Linked DNA regions of Homo sapiens: regions 2, 3 and 4 are each linked to region 1. Evidence: promoter capture Hi-C in 16 types of primary human blood cells and fetal thymus (Javierre and others, 2016). All regions are on one chromosome and are shown on one strand. Each heading gives the region's core, a stretch centred on a gene start or on the middle of the fragment in contact. The rest is flanking DNA. Distances are from core to core; before and after follow the strand shown.

Region 1 (3,187 bases), core at 219-2,718:
TCTTTATAATGAATGCCTTTAATCACAACCACCCCACGAGGTGCGCATATTCATTCCCATTTTACATATTAAGAAACCAAGACTGAGGGTGTATGCAGCATGCTCAGGTTCACCTGGCTAATGCAGAGAGCTGGGTTTGCAGCCACACTTTTACTTCAAGGGGCTGCTGACACCCTCCAAGAGACTTGGTGGTTCAAAACTATTTCTCATCCCCTCTCTGCGAGCCAAAAGCCTATTTCCTGAGGTGTTCAGAGAGATTCAGAGCAGATTGACACCTTTTCCATCACTGACACAAAGAGGAGGGTATAAAAAACAGTATGTAGCCCTGGGGATCTAAAATATTTTCCCAGCCAAATCGGACAGGCATTGAAAGTCACACAGGCTGGGGTGGTTTTACAAAATGCCACTTGTTTAAATTTCCTTTCATCACTCTGTCAGGAATAACAGCAACGTAGTGGAGCCTCAGAGTCCTGTTGAGAGGGGCGAGCTGTTCCGGGGAAATTTATTTCAAAAGTTATTCTGAAGTAAAAACTTGCCCACTGTGGAGTGAGGTTGGACAGTGATCCTATATCCTAGGTAATGAGGCTATTAAAGCAGCTGGTCTCTTCAGCTTATGTAAGTGGGGCCCAGTCTCTGGGCGACTTGGGTAAACCGGTATAGAATTTAACAGGGTGACTAGGAGTGACAGCAGCAGTAAGACCCCCATTTCTAATGTGGCGTTAGGGCTGGAGGTTAGATGTGGACAGGGGTGTCTGAGTCCTACATAATGGGGCTGGATGACTAGTCTGAGATCTGGGTTCACGCAGCAACCACACTCTTTTTTACTCACACTGTTCATCTGGGCTTGGGTGGAAAGAGGCTGATGAGGATTTGGGGGAAATCAAGGGGCTCTCCCTGGCATTGCATGAAGTCGCAGAACCAGTGGCAAAAGTCCAACTTTGGAGACAATTACTTCTCGGGTGGGAGCCCCAGCCCTGCCTCTTGCCTGCGATGTCGCCAATCTGACTGCGCTTGCTGGAGACGGGAAATGTGGCACGGCACTGCATCCCCCAACACGTGTAGAAACTTAGAGAATGCCAGTTATTAAAATAACCCTTATGATAACACCAATTCGATGCAGAAGTCTTTTAAATATCATAAGCCTCGTCGTTTTATTCCACATGGTTTTCTAGGTAACCAAATTCTAGGAGGTGCGTTGCAGGGCCATCTTCGCATCCCGGCCATGCCCAGCAGGACGGTGTTCTCTAAACGGCGCTGATGCCCGATTTCGACCCCGAGGAGACTGCGGACCTCGACTGCGGCCCCCACCAGGGCCGGTCCGCCCTCACTCCACCCTCTGAGGCTGGGGCGGAGTCGACCGGCCGGCCCCGAGACCCCTTGCCTTACCGGTGGAGCAAGGAACCGGAAGCCGCGGCTCTTACATAACCGGGATGATGTCAGGGCGGGCGACTCCCGGGGGGCGGGACCAGGGCGGAGGCCGCGCCGGGAGCGCGGTGGGGCTAGGCGTGGGGCGCTCCCGGCATGTCCCTGTACCGCAGCGTCGTGTGGTTCGCCAAGGGGCTGCGCGAGTACACCAAGTAAGGCGGCGCGGCGGGGCGCGGGGCCCCGGGCTGTCACGTGGCCCGCCTCGGCGCGGGCGAGCAGGGTTGGCGGGGACGCGCCCGCGGCTCCTTCGCCCTCTCGCTGGGCCGACTAAGCGTGTCCAGAACGACGGGTGCGCCCGCCGTCTAGCGACCCACGGCTGGGCGTGGGGCAGTCGCCAGACTCCAGCCGCTCAATGCCCGCGACCGAGACTGGCGCCCGAGGGGCGGGGCTGTGGCGCGCCCAAGCCCAGGGCCGTCCCACTGACGTCAGGCGGCCCCGGCGCCAAGGAGCCTCTTGGGCGGCACCTCGGCGCCCCGCTGGGTGTGCTCGTGGAAGTGTCTTCGTGGTGCTGCTGGCGGCGTCAGATAGGGCTGGATCTAAATCGCTAGCTAAGGCTCTGTCCTAGTGCCTTTGGGTGTGTTTCCTTTAAAAAGATGCAGCACCTGGACTGCGACCTTTGGCTCCAGCTGGAACTTTCCAGCCAGTGTGTGCTTCTGGGGAACGGTGCGTGGTGGTTTCGTCGCCCCGTGACCACGCTCAGTGTGCCCTAGTTGGCTCTCCACCTCATTGTGGTTTTAAGAGGTGACAGGTTCCTGTGACGGAGGAGAGATGGAGGTTTTCTCTTAGAATTGATTAGGCTAACCGCTGGTTCTCAACCCTGTCTGCACATCAGAATCACTGGGCGAGAATTAAAAGTACCCAGTTTTCAGGCCCCATCCCTACAGATTCTGATTTAGTGGATCTGCACAGGGGCCTGGACTGGCATTTCATCCAAATGCCCCAGGTGATTCTCACCTCTGAGAGGCTTCTCCCTGCACTGGGGCTTTATCAGTTCCCACGGCAACCTGGCCAGCACTCCTAGGGGAGGTAGGAGTTGCAACTCCCTGCTCTTCACCCCACATCGTTTTGGAGAAGGTTCAGCTCTGTCTCAGGAGCCCCTGCTGCAGAGAATGGTGGGGAGTGTAGTCGTGAGCCCTGTCCCACAGTTTTTAGGGGAATACAGTGGCAGCCTCTTTCTTTCAAAGGGGTGTCCTCTGGCAATGACCATTAATTGCTGGATCTTTCCACATTACACAGCATGAAAGCTTAAGTCAGTTTCCAACCAGGGGTGGGCCCCAAGGAAAGCAGACTGTAAAAATTTCTCCCAGGACTCTTTCGCTCTGATTTCCCCACCTTGAGGGAAGGTAGAAGTGAGGCCAAGGGGCCCAATCCACCACAGATTGGTGGGGGAAGGGAGGGGAGGGGAAGGCAGTTGGCAAAGTTAGATGGGTTTTCCTGCTGTTGTGGATTTAGTGAATAGGAGAGAAAAACAACAACCTTGTTTTGACTTCAGTGTGAGAGCGCGGAGTTAGAGTTTACAACGTTTCTCTTGGCACAAGGATTTTTATAAAGCCTCCCTATATTGGGCTCCTAAGGCAGGAGGATCTAATCACTGTTTCCTAAACTTTGCTGAACCTAATAATTCCCTGGGGCAGTTTTAAACAGACTCCTAAACCCTGGGCAAGTGTGGATGGGTCCTAAGCAAATTTCATATTTGGGTAAATTGAGGGTGTGGGGAGACACAGATACCTGCCAGCTTCCTCCTCCCCATCCCTGTCACCTC
Region 2 (3,187 bases), core at 317-2,816, 2.4 Mb after region 1:
TTGGCATTATCAGTTAAAATATTTAGCCTTTATATGAGGTATGATGGGGTATCTCATTGTGGTTTTAATTTCCCCTTTGATGATTGTATGCTTCTCTGATGAAAAGTGAAATGAAAACCTATATTGGCTGCTCTGCAAATATTTATAGCGATTTTATTTGTAATGGCCAAAACTGGAAACAACCAGATTCCACTAGGAAATAGATTTTTTTAAACTCCAGCATGTCCATACAGTGTAACATAGGAACCTCCTTTTTATTTTCTTTAGAGATGGGATCTCGCTATGTTGCCCAGGCTGGAATACAGTGGCATGATCACAGCTTACTGCAGCCTTGACCCCCCAGGCTCAAGTGAACCTCCCTCCTCAGCCTCAAGAGTAGCTGGGACTATAGATATGTGCCACCATGCCTGGCTAATTTTTTGGAGAGATGGCATCTTGCTATGTTGCCCAGGCTGGTCTCAAACTCCTGGACTCCAGTGATCCTCCTGCTTTGGCTTCCCGAAGTGCTAGCATTATAGGCATAAGCCACTGTACCTAGCCGGGAACCTCCTTTTAGTATATAGTTATATAAATATATGGGAAAAGGGAATATATATATATATATATATATACACTAAATCATTATAAGAAAATCATCAAAATAAGCCATAAAACATTGCACGAGATTATGAAAACATACCCCAAAAATGTGGCCACAAAGCAGATGAAAATGACAATCTAAATATTTCAGAGTAAGCTAAGAGAATTTAAGGAAAAGATGAAATCTTTGAAAGAACCACATAAATTCAGAAATAAGAGCTCAGACATGAGATACGTAGGAAGTTCTAGCCAGAGCAATCAGGCAAGAGAAACAAAAGGCATCCACATAGGAAAAGAAGTCAGACTATCTCTCTTGGCTGATGATCTGATTGTATACCTAGAAAACCCTAAAGACTCCACCAAAGGCTCTTGGAACTGATAACTTCAGTAAGTTTCAGGATACAAACTCTGTACAAAAATCAGTAGCGTTTCTATACCAATAATGTTGGAGCAGAGAGCCAAATCAAGAATGCAGTCCTGTTTACGATAGCCATACACACACACACACACACACACACACACACACACACACACACACTGCCTAGGAATACCTCTAACCAAGGAAGTGAAAGATCTCTACAAGAACTACAAGACACTGCTGAAAGAAATCATTGATGACACAAACAAATGGAAAAACACTCCATGCTCATGGATTGGAAGAATCAATATCATTAGAATCGCCATACTGCCCAAAACAAGCTACACATTCAGTGCTACTGAATGTGTAGCTTGTTTCAAATTATACTTTGAGGCTACAGTAACCAAAAAAGCATGGTACTGGTACAAAAACAGACATATAGGCCAATGGAGCAGAATAGAGAGCCCAGAAATTAAGCTGTACACCCACAGCCATCTGGTCAACAAAATTGACAAAAGGAAGCAATGGAGAAAGAACTTCCTATTCAATAAATGGTGCTGGGATAACTGGCTAGCCATGTGTATAAGACTGGGCTTCTACCTTACACCACATACAAAACTGGACTTCTACCTTACACCACATACAAAAATCAATTCAAGATGGATTAAAGATTTAAATGTAAGAACTCAAACAGTAAGAATCCTAGGAAAAAATCTAGGAAACATTCTGGACATCAGCCTTGGGAAAGAATTTATGACTAAGTCTTCAAAAGCAATTGCAACAAAAACAAAAGTTGACAAGTAGGACCTAATTAAACTAAAGAGCTTCTGCACAGTAAGAGAAACTATTAACAGAGCAAACAGATAACCTGCAGAATAGGAGAAAATATTTGCAAACTATGCATCTGACAAAGGTCTAATATCCAGAATCTATAAGGAAGTTAATTCAACAAGCAAAAAAAAAAAAAAAAAAAACCCATTAAAAAGTGGTCAAAAGACATCAACAGACACTTCTCAAAAGAACAAGTGGCCAATAAACAGATGAAAAAATGTTCCACATCACTAATCATCAGAGAAATGCAAATCAAAACCATAATGAGACATCATCTCACGCCAGTCAGAATGGCTCTTACTAAAAAGTCAAAAAACAACAGATGTGGGCAAGGCTGCAGAGTAAAGGGAACACTTACACACGGTTGGTGGGAGTGTAAATTAGTTCAGCCACTGTGGAAATCAGTTTGAAGGTTTCTCAAAAAACTCAGAACTACCATTTGACCAGCAATCCCATTATTGGGTGTATATCCAAAAGAAATTGTTCTACCAAAAAGATACATGCACTCATATGTTCATCATAGTGCTAGTCACAATAGCAAAGATGTGGAATCAACCTATGTGTCCATCAGGGATAGATTGGTTACATATGAACCGTGGAATACTATGCAGGGAAGGAATGCAATAAGTGTTGAAAAACTAACTGTTGAGTATAATGCCCAGTACCTGGATGACAGGATCTGTCATACTCCAGACTTCAGCGTTACACAGTATACCCATGTAACAAATCTGCACATGTACCCCCAAATCTAAAAGAGAACTTGAAATTATAAAAAAGTAAATAAAATTCACCTCTTTCTATGTTTTCAGGGGAAAAAAAGAAATGAGATGGCTAGACCATAGAAGGAGGTGCAATGAGAGCAGACAAAACTCAATAAAAGATTAAGAAAAAGACAGTTTAAAGTGATGATTGCATTAGAAACCAAGAGTGAATATACATCACAGAAAGTACGATAAGAAAAATGGAAAAATGAAGAAAATAAAAAGATTTTTAAAAAGGAGTCAAGAGGTGACAAGACAGGCAAAGAGAGCCAGAATAAATATAAATGGAGTTCCCCAAATGTAAGCCCAAGGATAGTGGTGATGTTTATGTAACACTGAATATACTTAATGCCACTTATTGAATACTTTAAAACAGTAAATTTTATGTTCCTTATTTTACTACAGTAAAACAAAGCAAGCCAAAGCAATGGACCAGAACAACTATTAGGACTGTAATTCAAGAACGCTTAACATTAAAGTAGGTTTAAATGTAACATATGTTGAAAGGCATACTGTAAACCTGGAGAAATCAACCCACAACAGTTAACACTGAGATGTGGTCCTGTAAAATTGTTGGATTTTTAAAAATAAACCCTTCTTGCATTGATGGGGGAAATAAAAAGAGCAGGTCACTTGCAAAGAAAATCAGATTGGATTT
Region 3 (3,187 bases), core at 217-2,716, 2.3 Mb after region 1:
AGGCCACCATGTCTGGCTAATTTTTGTTATTTTTTTTTTTAGAGACAGGGGTCCCATTATGTTGCCCAGGCTGGTCTCAAACTCCTAGGCTCAAGATCAGCCTGCTTGGCCTCCCAAAGTGCTGAGATTACAAGTGTGAGCCACTGCACCCAGCCTGAGAGCATTTCTTGTGTTTGAGTCACTATGTTGTGCACTCTAGACCGATGCTGTCCAACAAGAAACATATAACAAGACACAAATGTGAGCCACAGATATCACTGAAAACTTTCTAGGAGCCTCATTAAAAAAATCAAAAAGGAGGCTGGGCCTAGTGGCTCACGCCTATAATCCCAGAACTTCGGGAGGCTGAGGTGGGTGGATCACCTGAGGTCAGGAGTTCAAGACCAGCTTGGCCAACATGTCACTACTAAAAATACAAAAAAATTAGCCCAGTATGGTGGCACACACCTGTAATTCCAGCTACTTGGGAGGCTGAGGCACGAGAATTGCTTGCACCCAGGAGGCAGAGGCTGCAGTGAGCTGAAATTGTGCCACTGCACTCCAGCCTGGGCAACAGAATGAGGCTCTGTCTCAAAAACGACACAAACAAACAAACAAAAAACCCAAAAAAGAAACAGGTGAAGCTAATAATGTGCTTTATGCAACCAAATATGTCAAAGAACTTACATCCTTTCAACATTTAGTCAATATAAAAGTTATTCATTCTTTTGTACAGAGTCTTTGAAGTCCAGTGTGTATTCTGTGCTTAAAGCATGTCTCAATAGGACCAGTCACATTGTACGTGCTCAACAGCTATCTGTGGTGAGGGGCTCCTCTAGTGAATAGTAGAGCAGAGGACGTAAAGAAATGTGGTGAGATAGAACTGGTGTCTGCAAGAAGCTTACGAAATAAACAGGGAGACTAAATAGCAGTTAGGAAAATAAAATGGCAGAATTAAGTGTCACAAAGTGCAACTGCCAAGTGAGTGGGAATTCCAATACACGCTAAGGAGGTAGCCGAGGAAGTGCTCCTCGTGGGAAGGAGTATTGTCAAGGGCAGGGGCCTGGAACTGGTACAACCTGGAGAGGAGGGAAAGGTGGGGTGGGTTGGGGTATGGGCTAGGAGGAACACTGTAGAGGGAAGCAGCCATATGGGAAAAGGCCCAGAGATCGGAGCTGAGACAGTAAGGCAGCCAGGCTGAGGAGGAAAGGCTGCACAGGAAGCTGGGAAAGGATTTGAGAAACGTGTTGAAAGGCTGCCAAGGAGGATGTCTGAGCAGGAGAAGCACATGATGACAAAGTTGTTTAAGAAGGTCAATCTTGGTCGGGCACGGTGCTCACGCCTGTAATCCCTGCACTTTGGGAGGCCGAGGTGGGTGGATCACAAGATCAGGAGATCGAGACCATCCTGGCTAACATGGTGAAACCCCATCTCTACTACATTAAAAAAAAAAATTAGCTAGGCGTGGTGGTGCATGCCTGTTATCCCAGCTACTCGGGAGGCTGAGGCAGGAGAATCCCTTGGACCTGGGAGGCAGAGGTTGCAGTGAGCCAAGAATGTGCCACTGCACTGTGGCCTGGGCAACAAGAGTGAAACTCCGTCTCAAAACAAACAAACAAATAAACGTATTATCAAGGTACAGTTAGGACAGAAGGTTAGATGATGAAGTCAAAGGAAAGAACACGAAATGCAGAGAGAAGTGGATCATAATCTGGACTTACGAATGTAACATGCAGTAAGGTCACAATCCCATTTCTTCTCTAAGGCACTCATGTCCTTAGCCCATTTTTCTGTTGAATTATTATTTTCTTATTGGTTTATAACAGTCAGGGTATTAACCCTTTGTTAGTCATATATGTGGTCTTTTAACTTTGTTTATAATATTCTTTGATATACAGAATATTTAAATGTTTTACTTGATGAAATTACAACAATCATTTATTTTATGATTTCTGCTCTTGGGTGAGATGGACATAGAAAACACTTACCTCTGTTTTCTTCTAGAATTTTAATTTATTTTAATTAATCAATTTATTTATTTTGAGACAGGGTCTTGCCCTGTCACCCAAGCTTGGAGTGCAGTGGCATGATCATGGCTCACTGCAGCCTCAACCTCCCCAGCTCAAGTGATCCTCTCACCTCAGCCTCCAAAGTAGCTGGGATTACAGGTGCATGCAACCACATCTAGCTAATTTTTAAATTTTTGTGTAGAGGAGGGATCTTGCCATGTTGTCCAGGATGGTTTCGAACTCCTAGGCTCAAGTGATCCTCCCTCCTGAGCCTCCCAAAGTGCTGGGATTACAGGCATGAGGCACCATGTCCTGCCTTAATTTAATTTTAGAATTAAAATATTGGCCGGGCGCGGTGGCTCACACCTGTAATCCCAGCACTTTGGGAGGCCGAGGCGGGTGGATCACCTGAGGTCAGGAGTTCGAGACCAGCCTGACCAACATGGTGAAACCCTGTCTCTACTAAAATTACAAAAATTAGCCGGGCATGGTGGCGGACACCTATAATCCCAGCTACTCGGGAGGCTGAGGCAAGAGAATCACTTGAACCTGGGAGGAGGAGGTTGCAGTGAGCTGAGATTGCACCACTGCATGCTAGCCTGGGCGACAAGGGCGAAACTCCTCAAAAAAACAAAACAAAATGAAACAAAAAAAGAATTAAACTATTCATGAACATAGAATAAATTGTTTTGTAATGTATGAGATGGGAATCTAACTTATATTCATAATGGTTAGCCACTAATTTAAAATCTCCTTTTCATATAGTTGGATCTGTTCCTCCTGTGCTTCTGTTTTATTCCATTGAACAATGCTACACTTAAAATTTTCAATGTTTTAGAATATATGTTAATATTTGACAACACAAAGTCCCCTGCCCTAGGATGAAACTGGGGGAAAAACATCCCAATATTCTAATTACCTCAGACCCAAAATCTACTTTGATAGAATACTGTGTTCTTATTAAAGGACACTCAAAACAGACATTAAAACTTGTAAAGTACAGGCTTAAAAAAAGCCAGTGGGGCTGGGCGTAGTGGCTCACACCTATAATCCCAGCACTTTGGGAGGCCGAGGCAGGCGGATCACCTGAGGTCGGGAGTTCAAGAGCAGCCTGACAAACATGGAGAAACCCCGTCTCTACTAAAAATACAAAATTAGCCAGGCGTGGTGGTGCATGCCTGTAATCCCCGCTACTCGGG
Region 4 (3,187 bases), core at 388-2,887, 2.0 Mb after region 1:
GAGGATTTGATGATGCTGTTCTTCCTCCCTCTTCCTCCTCCTTCAAATTCTCTTTATAAAGATCACTGAAGAGAAAGGGAGTAAAGGTTATTCTGAGGTTTATAAATGGAGGAAGGGAGGGAGTAATTATCATCACTGATAGAAATTTGGAGCTTGGGTAGGGGATGCATTTTGTAGCAAAAACTAGGAAGTACATATTGAAAGGGAAACATTTCCTTTTATTTGTTCTGGAATGTGCTTTTTTTTTTTAAAAAAAAAAAAAAAAAAAAAGAGGGTCTGGCTCTGTCGCCAAGGGTGGAGTGCAGTGGCCCAATCTCGGCTCACTATAACCTTCGCCTCCTCCCAGGCTCAAGCCGTCCTTCCATCTCAGCCTCTTGAGTAGCTGGGACTACAGGCACATGCCACCACACCTGGCTAATTTTTGTGTTTTTTGTAGAGACGGGGTTTTGCCATGTTGCCCAGGCTGGTTTCAAACTGCTAGCTCAAGTTATCCTCCTGCCTTGGCCTCTAAAAGTGTTGGGATTAGGGGCATGAGTCACCATGCCCGGTCCTGGAATGTGCATTTTAATGCTAGACCTTTTCATGTAAGGCATTGATTCTTAAAAACTTTTCCTGTTTTCAAAGATAACTTATAGAAAAGTGTGCAAAACAGAAATGTTCTGTTTAATGAATAATTACAAAACAAATGCTCAGGTAACTGCAATCCAGGTCAACTCATTTTCTTGCTGCTGTATACCTCAAGGGTGTGACATTTTCATTAGTAACAGTAATTAATTATTTTAAAAACCTTAACATTTATTGTTTACAGTATATCAGTGCTAAGTACTTTATATAGATTATCTATTTAATCTTCACAACAGTCCTATATCAAGTAAGTACTATTATTATCCCCATTTACTGCTGAGGCAACTTGAGGCCTACAACCCTTAAGTAAGTGGCCTTAAGTCTTCCATCGGGTGTTAAGTGGCAAAGCCTGGACTTACAATATATCAAAGCTTTATGCTAAGCGGCTGGGCGCAATGGCTAACGCCTGTAATCCCAGCACTTTGGGAGGCCGAGGCAGGTGGATCACCCGAGGTCAGGAGTTCGAGACCAGCCTGGCCAACATGGTGAAACCCCGTCTCTACTAAAAATACAAAAATTAGCCGGGCATGGTGGCGCGTGCCTGTAGTCCCAGCTACACGGGAGGCTGAGGCAGGAGAATGGCGTGAACCCGGGAGGCGGAGCTTGCAGTGAGTCAAGATCGCACCACTGCACTCCAGCCTGGGCGACAGAGCGAAACTCCGTCTCAAAAAAAAAAAAAAAATACAAAAATTAGCCGGTCCTGGTGGCTCATGCCTGTAATCCCAGCTACAAGGGAGGCTGAGGCGAGAGAATCACTTGAACCGGGGAGGCAGAGGTTACAATGAGCTGTGGTCATGCCACTGCACTCAAGTCTGGGCGACAGAGTGAAACTCTGTCTCAAAAACAAACAAATAAAGCTTGATGCTAAAGCTAGAACTCTTGCTTACTGTGCTGTACTCCACCGAAGGGAGTCTAAGACTTGACATGTACAAACCACGCCTGAAAGTTAGTGAATGGGGAAAATATTGAAGAAATATCGACTATATCACAGAAATTGCTATTTCTATACTTTAAAACCTTGCAAATTTTTGATGAACTTTACTATTAGATTTATTTGCCTTTTTATCTTTTTACTCTTGCAAAGTTTCCTTCTTATCAGCAAGGAGCCAGTTGGTTGGTTTTACCAAAAAATGATAATCCGTATCTTTGGGCTTAACACTTAAGCTTTATGCTTTAGTTTCTGATACCAGGGCTAATATATATTTTCTCACCTGCAAAATTCAGTTAGCTCTACCAGACTTGCTTCTGTCTCTGGAACCTCCAGTGCTAAGTGGCACTATCTGATTGTCCAAGTTTAAGATTCTATCCTTGACTCCCTTCTCTTCCCCTCCTTCACCCTTCTTTGTATTAGTTATCTGAAGAACCCTCATGTTTGTACCTGTTACCAACCTTACTTCCTCTGCCCCTAGTTTAGACCCTTATCTTTGTTGCCTGAACAAGTATAATAGTGTACCTAGCTCTTCTGTGTTCAGTATCTTCTCTCCCCAGTGTATCTTGTGGATTGATCTTTCTCATATCTTTCTGTGTTACTTTCCTGTTTATGATCCTTCCCATTGACTTCAGGATAAAAGTCCTTAGCATGCCACACATAGTTGTAAGACCTTACCTTTTTTACCTCACCTTGCACTTTTCCTTATATCTCCTTTGTGCCAGCTGTGATAAAGTACTGGAGATGCTTGAGTAACCAGTAGTTTCTTCTTCATGCCTTTGTATATGCTGTTCTGTGTGCCTTCTTTTGACTATCTGTTGAGTTGGGGTTCACTCTGGCAACCTATCTCTTCAGTGAGACTCCTTCATATATCTCTGGAACACCAAGATTACAATTCTGCCACACCATGTCATTCTAGTTAAAAACCAAAAACAAAAAAAAACTTTAAAAGTTCTCCATGAGCCTTTCCTGACTTACAGTATACTTGGTACTATCAGTCCCTATTCTTTTCCTCCTCTCTAGTGTTTTCCTAGGTGAATTTTCCTTCACCTATTTGGGATAAATTGCTGTGATGTACAACAAATTCTGTGTTTGTATAGCTATTAAAGTATTTGGGCTCTGTTGAGAAGCTCAGTGAGAATAGATACCTTGGATGTAACTTGAAACATGAAACTTAATGAGAAGAGAGACTAGATGATATACCTGAAAAAAGTCTACATTTGGGAATGAAAGGTTCAGTATTATTCTAAGACATTAATTTTCTTTTGGTGTTGACTCCATGGCATTGATACTGTTGCCTAGCCCTCCTTGAACAGCCTGTTCTCCTATAATGTATTTCTGTAACATGAACTCGCTCATACTTGAATGGTTAATAAAAAAATGTTAAGGCAAAGTTCATATTGGTTCATATGTGATTTTTAGTATCACATTAATGTTTAGCACTCTTAAATAACAACAGTTGAACATAAAGTACAGAAACAGTTGAACGGATCAAGCCCAGGAGTATGCATATTGGCCATGCACCCATGTTCTGCCTCTTGGCTCTGTTTAACCATATGCAGTGTCTAAAGGTGCTTAACGACCATCCATCCTGTGCATTTCCCTCTTCTTCCTAAGTTTGGAGAGTGTAAAGTG

The links. Contacts are between HindIII fragments. The CHiCAGO score rates a contact against its expected background, and 5 or more counts as called.
Region 2: a contact is called between a fragment that was not itself captured here and the fragment with the promoter of DHRS12 in region 1, in 1 of 17 cell types (fetal thymus). The highest score is 5.4, in fetal thymus.
Region 3: a contact is called between a fragment that was not itself captured here and the fragment with the promoter of DHRS12 in region 1, in 1 of 17 cell types (activated CD4 T cells). The highest score is 5.4, in activated CD4 T cells.
Region 4: a contact is called between a fragment that was not itself captured here and the fragment with the promoter of DHRS12 in region 1, in 1 of 17 cell types (fetal thymus). The highest score is 6.0, in fetal thymus.

Annotation. Positions count from the first base shown.
Region 1 is chr13:51,802,444-51,805,630 of GRCh38, reverse strand. DHRS12 (dehydrogenase/reductase 12) reads left to right here and starts at 1,468. Exons shown (of 9, transcript NM_001377533.1): 1 at 1,468-1,577. It overlaps LOC107984561 (a long non-coding RNA gene), which reads right to left and starts at 1,795. Exons shown (of 2, transcript XR_007063805.1): 1 at 830-1,795. RefSeq lists enhancers at 588-717, 3,103-3,152 and a silencer at 1,268-1,907. The HindIII fragment of the contact is 7,862 bases long and covers 1-2,671 here.
Region 2 is chr13:49,438,646-49,441,832 of GRCh38, reverse strand. The region is part of intron 1 of CAB39L (calcium binding protein 39 like); the gene reads left to right. Among named protein-coding and RNA genes, the nearest start is that of CAB39L, 3.8 kb to the left of the region's middle. The HindIII fragment of the contact is 4,167 bases long and covers 1-3,187 here.
Region 3 is chr13:49,501,136-49,504,322 of GRCh38, reverse strand. The region is part of intron 12 of SETDB2-PHF11 (SETDB2-PHF11 readthrough); the gene reads right to left. The region is part of intron 1 of PHF11 (PHD finger protein 11); the gene reads right to left. Among named protein-coding and RNA genes, the nearest start is that of PHF11, 6.8 kb to the right of the region's middle. The HindIII fragment of the contact is 1,170 bases long and covers 882-2,051 here.
Region 4 is chr13:49,785,801-49,788,987 of GRCh38, reverse strand. The region is part of intron 1 of KPNA3 (karyopherin subunit alpha 3); the gene reads left to right. Among named protein-coding and RNA genes, the nearest start is that of KPNA3, 5.3 kb to the left of the region's middle. The HindIII fragment of the contact is 307 bases long and covers 1,484-1,790 here.